Regions from separate parts of the Homo sapiens genome. Here region 2 is linked to region 1. Evidence: promoter capture Hi-C in 16 types of primary human blood cells and fetal thymus (Javierre and others, 2016). All regions are on one chromosome and are shown on one strand. Each heading gives the region's core, a stretch centred on a gene start or on the middle of the fragment in contact. The rest is flanking DNA. Distances are from core to core; before and after follow the strand shown. Region 1 holds the start of TLR3 (toll like receptor 3). Region 2 holds the start of CCDC110 (coiled-coil domain containing 110).

What was found. The method cuts DNA at HindIII sites, captures the fragments that hold promoters and counts their contacts. A CHiCAGO score of 5 or more calls a contact.
Region 2: a contact is called between the fragment with the promoter of CCDC110 here and the fragment with the promoter of TLR3 in region 1, in 8 of 17 cell types (M0 macrophages, M1 macrophages, M2 macrophages and 5 more). The highest score is 22.1, in M0 macrophages.

The regions. Positions count from the first base shown.
Region 1 is chr4:186,065,364-186,072,105 of GRCh38, forward strand. TLR3 (toll like receptor 3) reads left to right here and starts at 3,793. Exons shown (of 5, transcript NM_003265.3): 1 at 3,793-3,885. The HindIII fragment of the contact is 1,902 bases long and covers 3,781-5,682 here.
Region 2 is chr4:185,467,699-185,474,440 of GRCh38, forward strand. It overlaps CCDC110 (coiled-coil domain containing 110), which reads right to left and starts at 4,035. Exons shown (of 7, transcript NM_152775.4): 1 at 3,976-4,035; 2 at 3,247-3,351. The coding sequence starts at 3,985. It overlaps LOC105377590 (a long non-coding RNA gene), which reads left to right and starts at 3,733. Exons shown (of 2, transcript NR_133944.1): 1 at 3,733-4,062; 2 at 4,417-4,565. RefSeq lists a silencer at 3,620-4,249. The HindIII fragment of the contact is 5,122 bases long and covers 2,416-6,742 here.

The sequences.
Region 1 (6,742 bases), core at 2,543-5,042:
AATGGCACAATATATGTTATTTGGGTGATGAATACCCTAAAGACCCTGACTCCATCACTATGCAATCTACGCATGGAACAAAATGGCACTAGTACTCCCATAAATCTATACAAATAAAAAAGTAAACTGAGGCACAATACAGTTTTACAGTGCTTCTGAACCAGCAATGATTCATGAACCAGAAGTGGTTGGGGAGCTCCACCAAGGGAACACAAGAGAAGGCTTTTTCAGGACAGAGACAGAAGTAGAGCAAAGACAGCGCTTGACTGTTTACAGTTATACAGCTACCTTATTTGGTCTATCTCATTGGAAAGTCCTTAGTTATATAAGTTTGTTGGCTGCTTCTGATTGGTTGTGTTTACGTTTTCTTTAATATAGGCATTTACAAGATATAGTGCTCAAGTTATTATGTTTGCGTATGTCACTTATGTTTGCAGATCAAGCAAGGTCGAGGTCGCTTATGAGCCCTTGCTGGTTTGGTATGTTCATGGATTCTTCTGGCCTGGTCTCCATTTTAATGTACTTTAACACCATGAATAAAGGTTTACTTCTGAGACTCTAAGAGCCCGTTTAAATTAAACCTATGCATGATATTGCCTCAAATACCCAACAGCTCACTCATAATTGGATATTCATTGCTGGCACAAATGTTAAGTATTACTGAGCAATTAGTTCTCTCTATATTTGGCCCTCACAGAGTGTAATTATTGTATTGTTCAGTACTAATCTGCCTTTTCACATACATGCATTGAGAGGAGAGTCTTCTGTTTGCCCCACAATTTCAATTCTCTATATTTGTGGTTAGAAACTGCGGTGACACAATCCTCATGTCTAAATTCATTCATTCGGGAGATTGTAAAGATGGTTCCGTAAAGCCTCAGTATTGTAGGTGCTGATAATGATGATAATGAAAATGATAAACTTTCCCTTATAAATCTTATAATGAATTGACTAGACTGCCTACAGACTATACACTATCTTTGTCTATAGGTAAAATGGTTGTAATTGGCCGGGCGCAGTGGCTCACGCCTGTAATCACAGCACTTTGGGAGGCCAAGGTGGGTGGATCACGAGGTAAGGAGATCGAGACCATCCTGGCTAACACGGTGAAACCTCGTCTCTACCAAAAATACAAAAAATTAGCCGGGCGTCGTGGCACGTGCCTGTAGTCCCAGCTAGCTACTCTGGAGGCTGAGGCAGGAGAATTACTTGAACCCGGTAGGCGGAGCTTGCAGTGAGCTGAGATCGCGCCACTGAATTACAGCCTGGGTGACAGAGCAAGACTCTGTCTCAGGAAAAAAAAGATTAAAAAAAATAAAAACGGCTGTTTTATTAAGAATTGTTATTAGGAACGGGCAGAGAAGAACAGTGTCTGTGTAGTTCAGCATGTGAGTGGTAATTTGCTAATTATATCTGGCTTGTCACTCCGGTCTCTGTAACTTGCTGTGTTTTGTCAAGTGATTCTTCCAGAAATTTTGTGTATATTATCTTACTAAACTCTCATTAAAGAGGCCCCTCAAATGGAAGAAGGGAACTTAGAGTTTTTAGAATGTGAATAAATTTAAGGGACTTTGGCTTCTAGAATTCTGTAGATCTCTGTTTTGCTGGGAATATACAGCTTCCCATTATTCTGAGATTGGCTGATCTGTAATGCTGTGAAATATCAGTGTTTACTAAATTTGTTATTTTACATTTATGGGCATACATTTTTTTTTAATTCTCTCTCTCTCTTTTTTTGAGACAGGGTCTCCCTCTGTTACCCAGGCTGGAGTGCAGTGGCGCACTCATGACTCAATGCAAACTTGAATTTGCCTGGACTCAAGTGATCCTCCCACCTCAGCCTCCCAAGTAGCTGAGACTATAGGCATGCACCAACATGCCCAGCTAATTTTTGTAATTTTTGTAGAGATGGAGTTTTACCACGTTGCCCAGGTTGGTCTTGAACTCCTAGGCTCAAGCAATCTCCTAAAGTGTTGGGATTACAGGCATGATCCACTGCTCCCAGCCTTAATTCTTTTAAAAAGGGGAAAAATGAGGTTTTTCACTATTGCTCCAATCACCATCATAGCTAAATAAGTTAATGCACATAGTTAAGAAATGTACAGTAGAGAGAAAACAATCTGTGTTGTATTTAGAAACTAGCAAGAATTAAGGACTAATAATATCTGAATATGAACTGGTATTAAGCCCAAACTACTGCATCAGGAGACCATCAATAAAATTTATTTATCGAGAGCCATTCATTAGTCAACCAAAGTCGTGGGAAATTTAATCTGTATAAGGAGTCATAAGGCATAAGGGATAGGTATGAAGGATTGTTGAGATGATGTGTTTTATTTCGCTAATAATGCATATGACACCATTCCAATTTTTTTAAATTTAAAACAACAATCATTTATTTGCTTGCTTCTCAAGCCTGGGTAATCGTGTTTGGCAATGAGACCTTGTTGCATGCTTGCTAATATCCCACTGGTCAAAGCTAGTCAAATGGCCAAGCCTAGAGTCAGCGTGGGAGAAGGCCACACAAGGGTTTGAATTCTGAGGACGAGTCTCTTTCATTGAAGGCCAAAGAAACAGTCTACCTCAGAGGGTTGCTGGGGAGCTATAATGCAAAGAATAAACCTCACCCTGCCTTCAAGGCGCTCACAGAGAAGAAATCTTTTGAATATTAGTGAAGTTTTCCTGGACATCCCAATGGATAGATGTGAGGGACAGTCACGTACTCAGGACATCTGTTTGCTTATGGTGTTATGTTACAGATGTCACAAATGAAAATCAGAGACATGTAGCCCTGAGCCCAGTAACTATAAAGCGGTCTAGCTGAAGCTGGAGCCCACAAGAGGGCACTTTGCACCATGATGCACGCTTGTTTCTTGCCATCAGCTCTGCAATGAGTTCAAGCTAATGCCATGTCCCAGCCGTCCAGTTGTTTTATGACTTGTGTGATTGAAGCATATGGTGGCTTGTGGCATGTTCTTAGGCAAACCACTCACCTCCCTAGGTTTCGTTTTCCTAATTTCTCAAACAAGGGAGTTAGATTAGGTGGTCTATAGTTCCTTCCAATTGTGATATTTCACTATATAACAATATAGTTATAATAGATCATAGCACATCTGTAATGAAAAAAAGTGAGTTCATTTCTTAACAAGTACATTTACTTAACTAGTTGGAGTCATTAAAGCAAATTAAGAACGAAATTCTTAGTTAATCTGAACTTTTCTGGGCATACTGATCTGTTCCCTAACGCGTCTGACCGTGGAAAAGTGGATCAGCAGGAGTGGGACTGGCTCTCAGCTTTGCCATGTTTGGCTCTTTCTCTGCTGTGAAACTCAGTTTCTTCCTGGATCAAGAGGTTAATTTCTGCCGGTGTTATTTTACAGTGTTGCAAAGAGATAAAAGCCAGACGAAAGAAGGGAAAGTACTTCAGCTTTGATTAGGGATTTTTTTTTCTGTCCCTGTGACCATACACTACTCAATTCTGACAGCTTCGCATGAGTCTAGCAGAAAATTGAGGGATTCACTGTTATTCCTTAACTTGCAGAGGTCCAGACCCGCCCACATCAAATGGTGAGGTCCCCACTTTCAACTTTAGCTGTTGCTAAATCTGTGACCCTTTCAATGAAATCCAAGGATCTCAGCTTAAAAAAAGTTAAAATAAAATAAAAACTAGGTGTTTTTCAGAGGCGGTTTGAAACGCCTCTCTGAGGTTGTCAGAGATTGTTTTTGTTTTCTCCCTTTGCCCTTCTTGGAATGCACCAAACATAAAAGCATTTTTTTTCAAGCTTTACTTTCACTTTCGAGAGTGCCGTCTATTTGCCACACACTTCCCTGATGAAATGTCTGGATTTGGACTAAAGAAAAAAGGAAAGGCTAGCAGTCATCCAAGTAAGTGAAGGTGTTCATTTCACGTTCTTACTGGGCAGGGTCTCTCTTGCTGAGTAGAGTTTGCTAGCAGAATGCATGTGGTTTTAGCCTTCTTTGGTCTTTCTTTGATCTGGTGCTTGAAATCTAGTCAGAATTATTCAGGAAGGAAAGTGGAAGAAAAGGGATATGATATGGGCATGGGAGAAGGGTATAACTCAGAACACAAGTAATAGCACCAATATCTAGTTAATGTGATAATGTATTTATGCAGTATTTAATTTTTTTCTCTGTAGCATTCTGTACCTGGAAAAAACACATTAGGGAAGCTATGGAAATCATTTTGCAACAGTCTTTTTAGCAAATCACATCTTTGCCTTAAAGAAACAAAACTCCAAGAGGTTAAAAGAGCGTATCCCCTTTTGTTAGTTTTATTGGCTGGAGGGGAGACAGGAGCTGGCATTGTATGACAATGTCTTAGATAGGAGAGAACATTCAGGTATGCCTAGGAGTAAGTAAATGGCTTTCTTTCACCTAATGAAGGATAATGGAAGAAGTGGAGAAGTGGAAAGTTGTTAAGGTGTATGGGAAGATCAGAAACTGGTATCGGCAATTGTGGGGTACTCGGGTAAAAATGGAGTTGGCTTCAGCAAGTTGATTCCCAGGTTTACAGATGATTACGTGCTGGTATGTGTCTTCATATGGGCGTGCCTGTGTATGAACCTACTACAAAGGTTGCAAAGTTTACAAATCAAACTATGGATAGTGGTTAACTCCAGGTAGTCTGCCTCCAGACCCCATGTCCTAACCATCAGGCAATATTGTCTCTCACTTGGACAAAGAATGTGAATTCCATGTGCCCTCACAAAATATTTCCAAAATTCTAAGGCTGAGTGAGTCTCTTTTTAATTTTTTTTCATTTTCTTTATTTCTGCTAGATCTCATTCAACAGCAACGTTTTCTTCACTCTCATTTCATCCTTTAACTGCATTTTTGCTTGTTTTACTGAAGCATGTCCTAGAATAACCTTTTCATACAGATCGTATGGCTATAAACTTACTGAATTTTTGCATATCTCAAAATACTTATACCTTTTTATTTAGTTATTCAGATGGATGTGAAATTTCCCTATCTTATTTTATTTTATTTTATTTCATTTTATTTCATTTATCGATTTAGAGACAAGGTCTCGCTGTGTTGCCCAGGCTGAAGTACAGTGGCATGATCGTGGCTCACTGCAGCCTTGACCTCCCTGGCTCAAGCAATTCTCACACCTCAGTGTCACGAGTAGCTGGGACCACAGGTGTGAACCACTATGGCCAGCTAATTTAAAAAAAAATTTTGGTGGAGATGAGGTTTCCCTGTGTTGCCCAGGCTGGTCCCAAACTCCTAGGCTCAAGGGATCCTCCAGCCTCAGCTTCCTAAAGTGATGGGATTACAGGCATGAGCCACAGGTAATTTTCTTGGCCTGGTCAAAGGTAATTTTCTTGTTTTTTAGAGGTAAGGTCTTGCTCTGTTGCCCAGGCTGGAGTGCAGTGGTGTGATCATGATTCATTGCAGCCTTAACCTCCTGGGCTCAAGCGATCCTCCTGCCTCAGCCTCCCAAGTAGCTGGAACTACAGGCTTGTGCCACCACACTTGGCTACTTTCTAAAATATTTTTGTAGATACGGGGTCTCACTATGTTGCCCAGGCTGGTGTTGAGCTCCTGATCTCCTTCTGCCTACACCTTCTAAAGTGCCGGGATTGTGGGGATGAGCCACTATGCTTTGCCTGGATATGAAATTTTAAATTCAAAATAATTTTCTCTAAATGTTTGGAAAGCTTATCTCTATTGTTTTCCAGTGGTTCATGTTACTGATGAAAAGTTTTTTATTAATCAAGATCTCTTTTCTTTGGAAATGAAGGTTTTAGGATTTTTGTGTGCATGGTTGCAATTCTGAAATTTCATAGGAGTCTCTCCAAGTTTGTTCCTCTTTCACTCCTCCTGCCTAGCATTTGGTGAGTTTTGCCCACTGATGAAATGTCTTCAGATGGGGCAAGTCCTTAAGTCATTCAGGGATATGCTTTGTAATGGATTAGTCCTTCTCAGCAATTCTGACCTATAGCAGGAGCCCTACCAGAGGGGTACATCTCACCTAAGCAAGGAGAATGTATTGTAGGGACCTTACCTATGAGTTGGTAAATAGAGATAGGAAGTTCTGAAGGAACTGGAAGAGAGGTTTGGGACACTCTCAGAGAGGGGGCAGGTGGGGAGCTGGTCCCCAGCATTTGAGAGGTATCATTGCCAGCCCTGCATCCTTCACGTGCCTGGGCAAGTCAGCAAATGCATCCTTGCTGGCCTAGCTGTGGCATTCCTCATGGCCTGTGGATATAAAGAATGTGCACAGCTTTACAATGATTAGTGCCAGAGTTGTAAAGGCCATGAGATGGGAATATTAGTTTATGGAAGCCAGTTTTTTTTGTTGTTTTTTCTGTTTCTGAGAACTAAATTAGAATATTAGTAAAATCGCTATTTTTAAGTATATTAGAACAATTCTATATACTCACATTAGTTCTGTTTTCCTAGGATTAGTCACCTAAGGTGATTTTATTACCTGACACTTACCTGGAATAATTTTCATGTCATGACTTTTAGATCTTGTGGAATATCTATTTAGATATCATTACCACTGCTTCATCTCCATACCTTGTGGGTGTATTTGATTTTTTAAAATATCTGAAATTTGGTTGTTGATCACACCACAGAGTATCACACTGGGTACACATCCCACCAAAATAAAGTGTGACAATGTATGGAGTTGAGTGGCTTTCCTGAGCTGACTAAATGCCCATGGAAAGCTATTGTATGAGTGCATTCTCACATTGCTCTACAGAAATAC
Region 2 (6,742 bases), core at 2,785-5,284, 600 kb before region 1:
ATTCAATGTATACAAAAAGTACCAACTGCATACCTGTAGCAAACAGACCAAGAGGAACCAATACATTCTGAAAATGCAACAGGGTAACGATTCTATATAAGATGTCAGGCTCTCTGCAAGCTTTGTAATTCTTAGTTTCTTCTCATTGCAACCTCTGCCTCCCGGGTTCAAGTGATTCTCCTGCCTCAGCTTCCTGAGTAGCTGGGACTACAGGCATGTGCCAGCACACCCGGCTAATTTTTGTATTTTTAGTAGAGACGGGGTTTCACCATGTTGGCCAGGCTGGTCTCAAACTCCTGACCTCAGGTGATCCTCCTGCCTCGGTCTCCCAAAATGCTGGGATTACAGGCGTGAGCCACCATGCCTGGCCGCAGGTTCTAATACTGAGTTCTGCTGTGACAATTCAAGTTCATTCCTAGATGTCCCTGTCTTACAAAGCTTTGTGAGGTGTGGCACCCTCTGCATGAGGCTTTGTCACAGTCATTATGCAAGGAGCTATGCAACAGGTTGCCTGCCGCCCAGATTTGAATTCTAGCTTTGCCACACACTCGCAGTGAGGGGATAACTCTAGGCGAGTGTCCAGTTTGTAGATAAAGCCCTTACTGAGGTGTACGAGGTGTACGGCACATAGTGAATGCTCAAGAGACACTAACTCATTACTGCAGAGGCAATATGATGATAATTTGGTAAATTCAAAATTTCTAGTCAAGACGGAGGGGAGAGAAGCCTTCTCAAAATTCTCCAGTGCTTCTCAATTTTCTCAGAATAAATCCCAAATTCATCCATGGAACTACAAAGCCCTGTCCTGGTTCCTCCCGCCTACCCTTCCCTACTTGTTCTGCTCCATTTACAAGAGCAACCGTTCCTCAATCACACCAGCCACGCTCCCACCACAGGGTCTTTGCAGTTGCCATTCTCTCTGCCTGCGGTGCTCTTTCCCTAGAAATCTGCACAGATTGCTTCTTTACTTCCTTCTGGTCTTGGCTCAGACGTGACCTGCTGAGTGAGCCCTTCTCCTACCACCCTGTTTAAAATGACACACTTCCCACCCACCTCTGCCACTCCAAATATTCCTCCCCCCCTTCTCAGCCTTATGTTCTCCATAGAATTTATTCCCCGCTTACACACAATAGCCTTTGTCTGTCTGTTCCCTCACTAGAAGGTAAGCTCCATGTGGGCAGGGAATCTTGCAAGTCTTGTTCACTGTTGGATCCCCAGCACCTAGAACAGCACTTGAAACTTAGCAGGTGCTCAAAAGAATATGCTCCACAAACGAATGAATGAATGAAAGCTCGGGTACAACAGGGTGCTGGGAACAACACCCTGGACACCCTCAAATTCAAAAGTCTCTCACAAACCCATTCCAATAAGGGTTAATTAGGTTAACCACTAGTTCTGAAATCAGAGACACCTTGGGAACATTCTATAACTCTTTGTAACCTGGCAGTAGTTATGCAAATCAGGTCATTATTTTCTCAGTACACGGGGAATGGATCACTTGGTGACAATGAAAGCATCAGTAGGAGAGTAGAGAGAAGGGCGCCAGCCATACCTCCTAGTTTTGCCTATAGTTGCAGGCAGGAAATTCCTGGGTGGCCCCTGACTCAAGATAACTGGTGTTTATTAAGAACCTGTCCTGTGTCAACCCCAGACCTGTAAACACTGTGTTCTGGCAAGAAAGACTGTAACTCTTAAACATGTACATGTGCTATTTTGCATGTAACTATTTTCTATAAATGTTGGCATCTTTCTCCAGAACCCTAAGCCTCATTCATGTCAAAAAACATGTGATCTTGCCAAATTAAGGTACTTCTATTTCTTCTGACCTTACATGCTCTCTTTGAGGTAAATACGGAGCTACCTCAATGTCTCAACTCTCTGTGAGGACTCTTTCTCCTTCGTTCAGGGGGCCCCTTTGCCCCTCCTGGTTGCCCAGGGAAACCTGCATATCTCAAGGGTGGAGGCAGGAGGGCGGAGAGGGGACTGGCCAGTGCCTGTCCTGCTGGCCTCCACTGGGGTGTTGCTCATCCTGGTAGTGCCTGGGCACCCGGGTGTCTTCTGTCTACTGAGGTGTGGCTGCTCTAGTCTCTTCTTTCCGGGCCCTGACAAGGCTTTTTGTGAAGATCTTGCATGGTGGAGGTGCAGAAATCCTGTCCCAACCTCAGTCCTCTTGTGGTTCAGCACTTTGGCATCAGGATTGCCCATATCCTACAGAGGGGCAACTGGGGGTCCGGGCATGGCACATCAGTCTAGACCCTTCTCCTGCCCCGTGCTCTGCTCCTTCCCCGGCATGTCCCCTCACAGCAGGCTCCTCTGAGAGGCGTGTAGTCAGTCGCCTGGGACTCCACCTTCAATGTCCTCAGATTCCCCTAGCTGGGTACCCCCATCTTATTCATAATTTATGTGGTGCTTGAAAGCTTTAGCTATGTGGCTATTTCAAACATCCTCCCCATATAATATCCTGTAGTCCGTAAATATTTACTATAAAAAGTAGTTTTCTTTAGAAAAGGTATACACCCCTCCCTGGATATCCACAGGGGATTGGTTCCAGAGCCTCTGCGGATAGCAAAATCTGCAGATGCCCAAGTCCCTAATACAAAATGGGGTAGTATTTGCATAGCTTCTATGTGTATCCTGCTGTATACTTTAAATCATCTCTCGATTACTTGTAATACCTTATACAATGTAAATGCTATGTAAATGGCTGTTATACTGTTCAAAATTTGCATTTAAAAATTGTGGTACTGTTATTTTTAAAAATTTTCCCCCCTGAATATTTTCCATCTGTGGTTGGTTGAATCCAAGGATGCGGAACTCCCAGATACCGAGGGCTGACTGCATATCGTTTTAGTGTGTGTCCAAAAAACTCAACAATTCTTACTTAGCATTCAGAGAAGCAACGGAGCGTAGCGTGGTGGTGAAGACAGGCAGTCCGGAGCCGCCCTGCTGAATGCCCGCTCCATTCCTCGCTGCCTGTGTGACCTTAGGGAGTTAACCTCTCTGTGCCCGTTTCCTTATCTGCAAAATGGGGATCGTGGTAGCACCCACCTCGTAAAAGTGTTGTGAGAATTAAACAGTTGATCCATTACGTGCTTAGAACAGCACTGGCACAAAGCGCGAGTGCCGTGGTGGCTGCTGTCCGTGTCATCACGGCCGTGGGAAGCACGCCAGGTGAGCAGGTGGCACAGGCCAGATGCTGCCGCCTGTGTATAGTTAAAGGAGCCTTTTACGGTCTGGCGATTTTACCTGTGTCACTGCAGCCACTTTCCTTCACCCCCTCCGAAGAATTTAGGATCTTGGACGCTGAAAGGAGAACGGAGTCAACTTCATCCTCTTCCCGGTGCTGCTTTTCTGTAACAGAACCGTCCGGGGCTGTTCTGTCGCGGGTCGTGGCGTGGCGGGGCTGAAGGTGGGGGCGGGGCAGAGGGATGGGGCGGGGCAGGGCTAACGGCTGGGGCGGGGCGGAGGGAATTAGGAGGGGGCGGGGCTGAAGGCTGGGGCGGGGGGGCGGGGAGGGCGGGGAGGGCGGGGCGGAGGGAATTAGGAGGGGGCGGGTTTGAAGGCTGGGGCGGGGCGCAGGGATGGGATGGGGCGGAGAGACTGGGCGGGACCTGTGGGGGCAGAGGAATGGGGCGGGGTCAAGGCTGAAGGCTGGGGCGGGGCGGAGGGATGGGGCGGAGGGACGGCATCAGGCCGGGCCTGGGGCGGGGCGCGGCGCTTTCCGCAAGCGGCCACCCGAGGGCGCGCTGGGCGGGCGGCGGCGGCAGACCACGTAGCCAGCCTGTAAGCCACAGCGGACGCAGGGGGCCGCAGCGGGTGCTCAGCCCTAGGGCCGAGCGGGAGATGTGCGGCGAGTGCAGAAGGGCGGACCCGGGATGTCCCGGGTTTTCGAGCGGGGAGCCGCCTGCTGAATGCCCTTCTGCTGCCCTCCGTTCCCGCGGCTCCCCTAGGAGCCCCGCCCCGTCCAACTCTTACCCGGGCTCATCGCCGCGGCTCATCTCTCTCGCAACCGCCGCCGCACGCACCCGCTCCGCCGCCCCGCGCAGGGCATCCTGTCGCCAGGTAACCGGGTGGCCGGGGCGCCGGCCCCACCCCCACCCTCGGCGGCGCGCGCTCGGCTGGGGTCCCTGGTGGGGTCCCGGTGGGTCCCTCCTCACTCCGGACGCTTCCCCGAGAGCTTCCCTGGGAACCTGGCCTGGGACAGCCCACCTGGGCGCCTCCCCGCACACGCGCGCGGCTGTCCGGGACGGGCTTGCTCACACTCGGACTCGCTGCGGTACCCGCCGGACCAAAGCGGTGCGGAGAAAGGGACCGCCCGGGGACGGACACACGCCTGAGAGCTTTCCCTTTGCCTTTCCACATCTCCACTTCATCGCTGTTGTTTTTTTTTTTTAATTCTTAGTCCTCTCATTTCAGCGCATCCCTCAGAGGAGTTTCAGCATTTGGGGATTTGAACGGCCCATGACCAATATTGTGAAAGGACTTTTGTTTGCTGCAATGAAAAGAAGACTCCTATTTTTCAATAATGAATTAACCTAAACATGTATTAAAATATGCTCATGAAAGCTGTGGGAAGCGACGGTGGGCTTCCTTTGTCTAAGCATGTTAATTTTTACGCACCTGGTGTATCACGTGCAGGATTGATGTTGCGTTCACGGGAAACCTGACCTCCTTTAACCAAGGACTGGGTGCGTGCCCCCAGCTAATCCTCCTGCCCATCAGAAAATGGTGCTCTTTAAAGTTTTAAACGAGTATATATTATTTATTTTGTAGTAAACCATCACACATAGAAAATTAAAATTCAAAATCACAATCACCAGGATATCATAATTTGCTATATAATAACATATAATATATAATAAGTAATACATGATGGCTTGCTTTCATTGAAATGAAACTTCTTATGATAGTTTCAGTGCTTACTTCCTCTAATTTGTTTCTTATAGAAATGGGCTCTAGTGCACGCGCCTGTAATCTCAGCTACTCAGGAGGCTGAGGCAGGAGAATCGCTTGAACCCAGGAGGCGGAGGTTGCAGTGAGCCGAGATGGCGCCACTGTGCTCCAGCCTGGGCAACAGAGCCAGACTCCGTCTCAAAAAAACAAAAAAAAACAAACAAAAAAAAAAAAAAGAAAAGAAATGGGCTCTAGGTCCGGCATGATGGCTCACACCTGTAATCCCAGCACTTTGGGAGGCCGAGGCGGGTGGATCACCTGAGGTCAGGAGTCCGAGACCAGCCTGACCAACATGGTGAAACCTTGTCTCTACTAAAAATACCAAAATTAGCCAGGTATGGTGGAGTACATTCGTAATCCCAGCTACTCGGGAGGCTGAGGCAGGAGAATCACTTGAACCCAGGAGGCAGAGGCTGCAGTGAGTCGACATAGTGCAACTGCACTCCAGCCTGGGCCACAGAGCGACACTCTGTCTCAAAAAAAAAAAAAAAAAAAAGAAAGAAAGAAAGAAAAAAATGGGCTCTAGAAGATTTGACTTTCTTGTGGCATTGTAGACAATTTTAATAAATTATAATTTTGAGAATTTATGGTCTGCATTGCTGATTGATATTGATGATTCAGGAGATAGAAATTATTTAGGCAGATAGGGCAAAAGAGTCTTCAGCAGAACTTCTAACAAAAAACAGCTCAAGAAATCATTTTTTTTTCTAACAAAGAGCAGCCTGAAAGCCTGCAAACCTTGCAAAGATAGATCAGGAAGCTGGAAGCGTGCACACCAGGGCGCAGGGGGTTGGGGGGCAGCGTGCGGGTGGATGCCAGCAGCTGCGCTGATAGAAAAGGGCTACCTGGGGGCCAGGCATGTCCACCATGGAATCTCCATCTCCCCTTTTTTGTTAGCACGTGTACAGTAAGAAAGAGATGGGCGATATGGAAAAGCTCAGTCAGAGAACCCACCTGCGTAGTAAAAGATTGGGGTGGGGGCTGCCAGAGATTCATGCCCTATGCAGATGGCACACCTGGTCCTAACTGGTTTTTCACGCCCTATGTAGATCAGACTGCCTCCCCATTAGCTCATCTATAAAATTCTATAAAAAATATTTCACAGCGAATTGGCAACCCGGGGACCCCTTTCTGTAGCGGAGAGCTTATTCCCTTTCTTGTCGCCTATTACATTTCGGCTCTTAACCTCACTCTTTGTGTGTCTGCATCCTTGATCTCCCTGTGAGACAGCAAACCTTGGTGTCAGCCCACACAATGAGGCTGCTTCATTGATAAAGTTAATTTTTTTCCTGAGAGCTACACAAGTTTTCAGCAATATGTTTGTGAAATTACTACTGTAAATAAATTGCATTCCTTCAAAGGGTGAATGACAAAAAGCCACTACATTTTAGCAAGTCTGTTTTTATACTACTGAAGTTTCCACAATTAATTACTATATTGTATTTTATGTAATGCTAATTATTAATATCTAATCATTTGATAATTTATGTAATAATGTGTAATAACTCTAATTTGTCTATGTAATATTTGTGGACTATGATGACAAATTAATATCGGTTATTACATAGAAATTACTTGTGGATTTTTGTGGGAGCACTCAGTCATACCATTTAGTGTAGAATATAAAAAGCAGGTGATAGATGCTACAACATCAAACTCAGATTTAGCCAGTGCACTAATCTCAATAGAGAGTTACTTCCATTTTAAGCTACTTCCTAATCCATTCATCAGTCAGAAAAGCAGCTCTTTAGTTAGAAGGACACTTTATTTTAGATGTCCTATAAGGCCT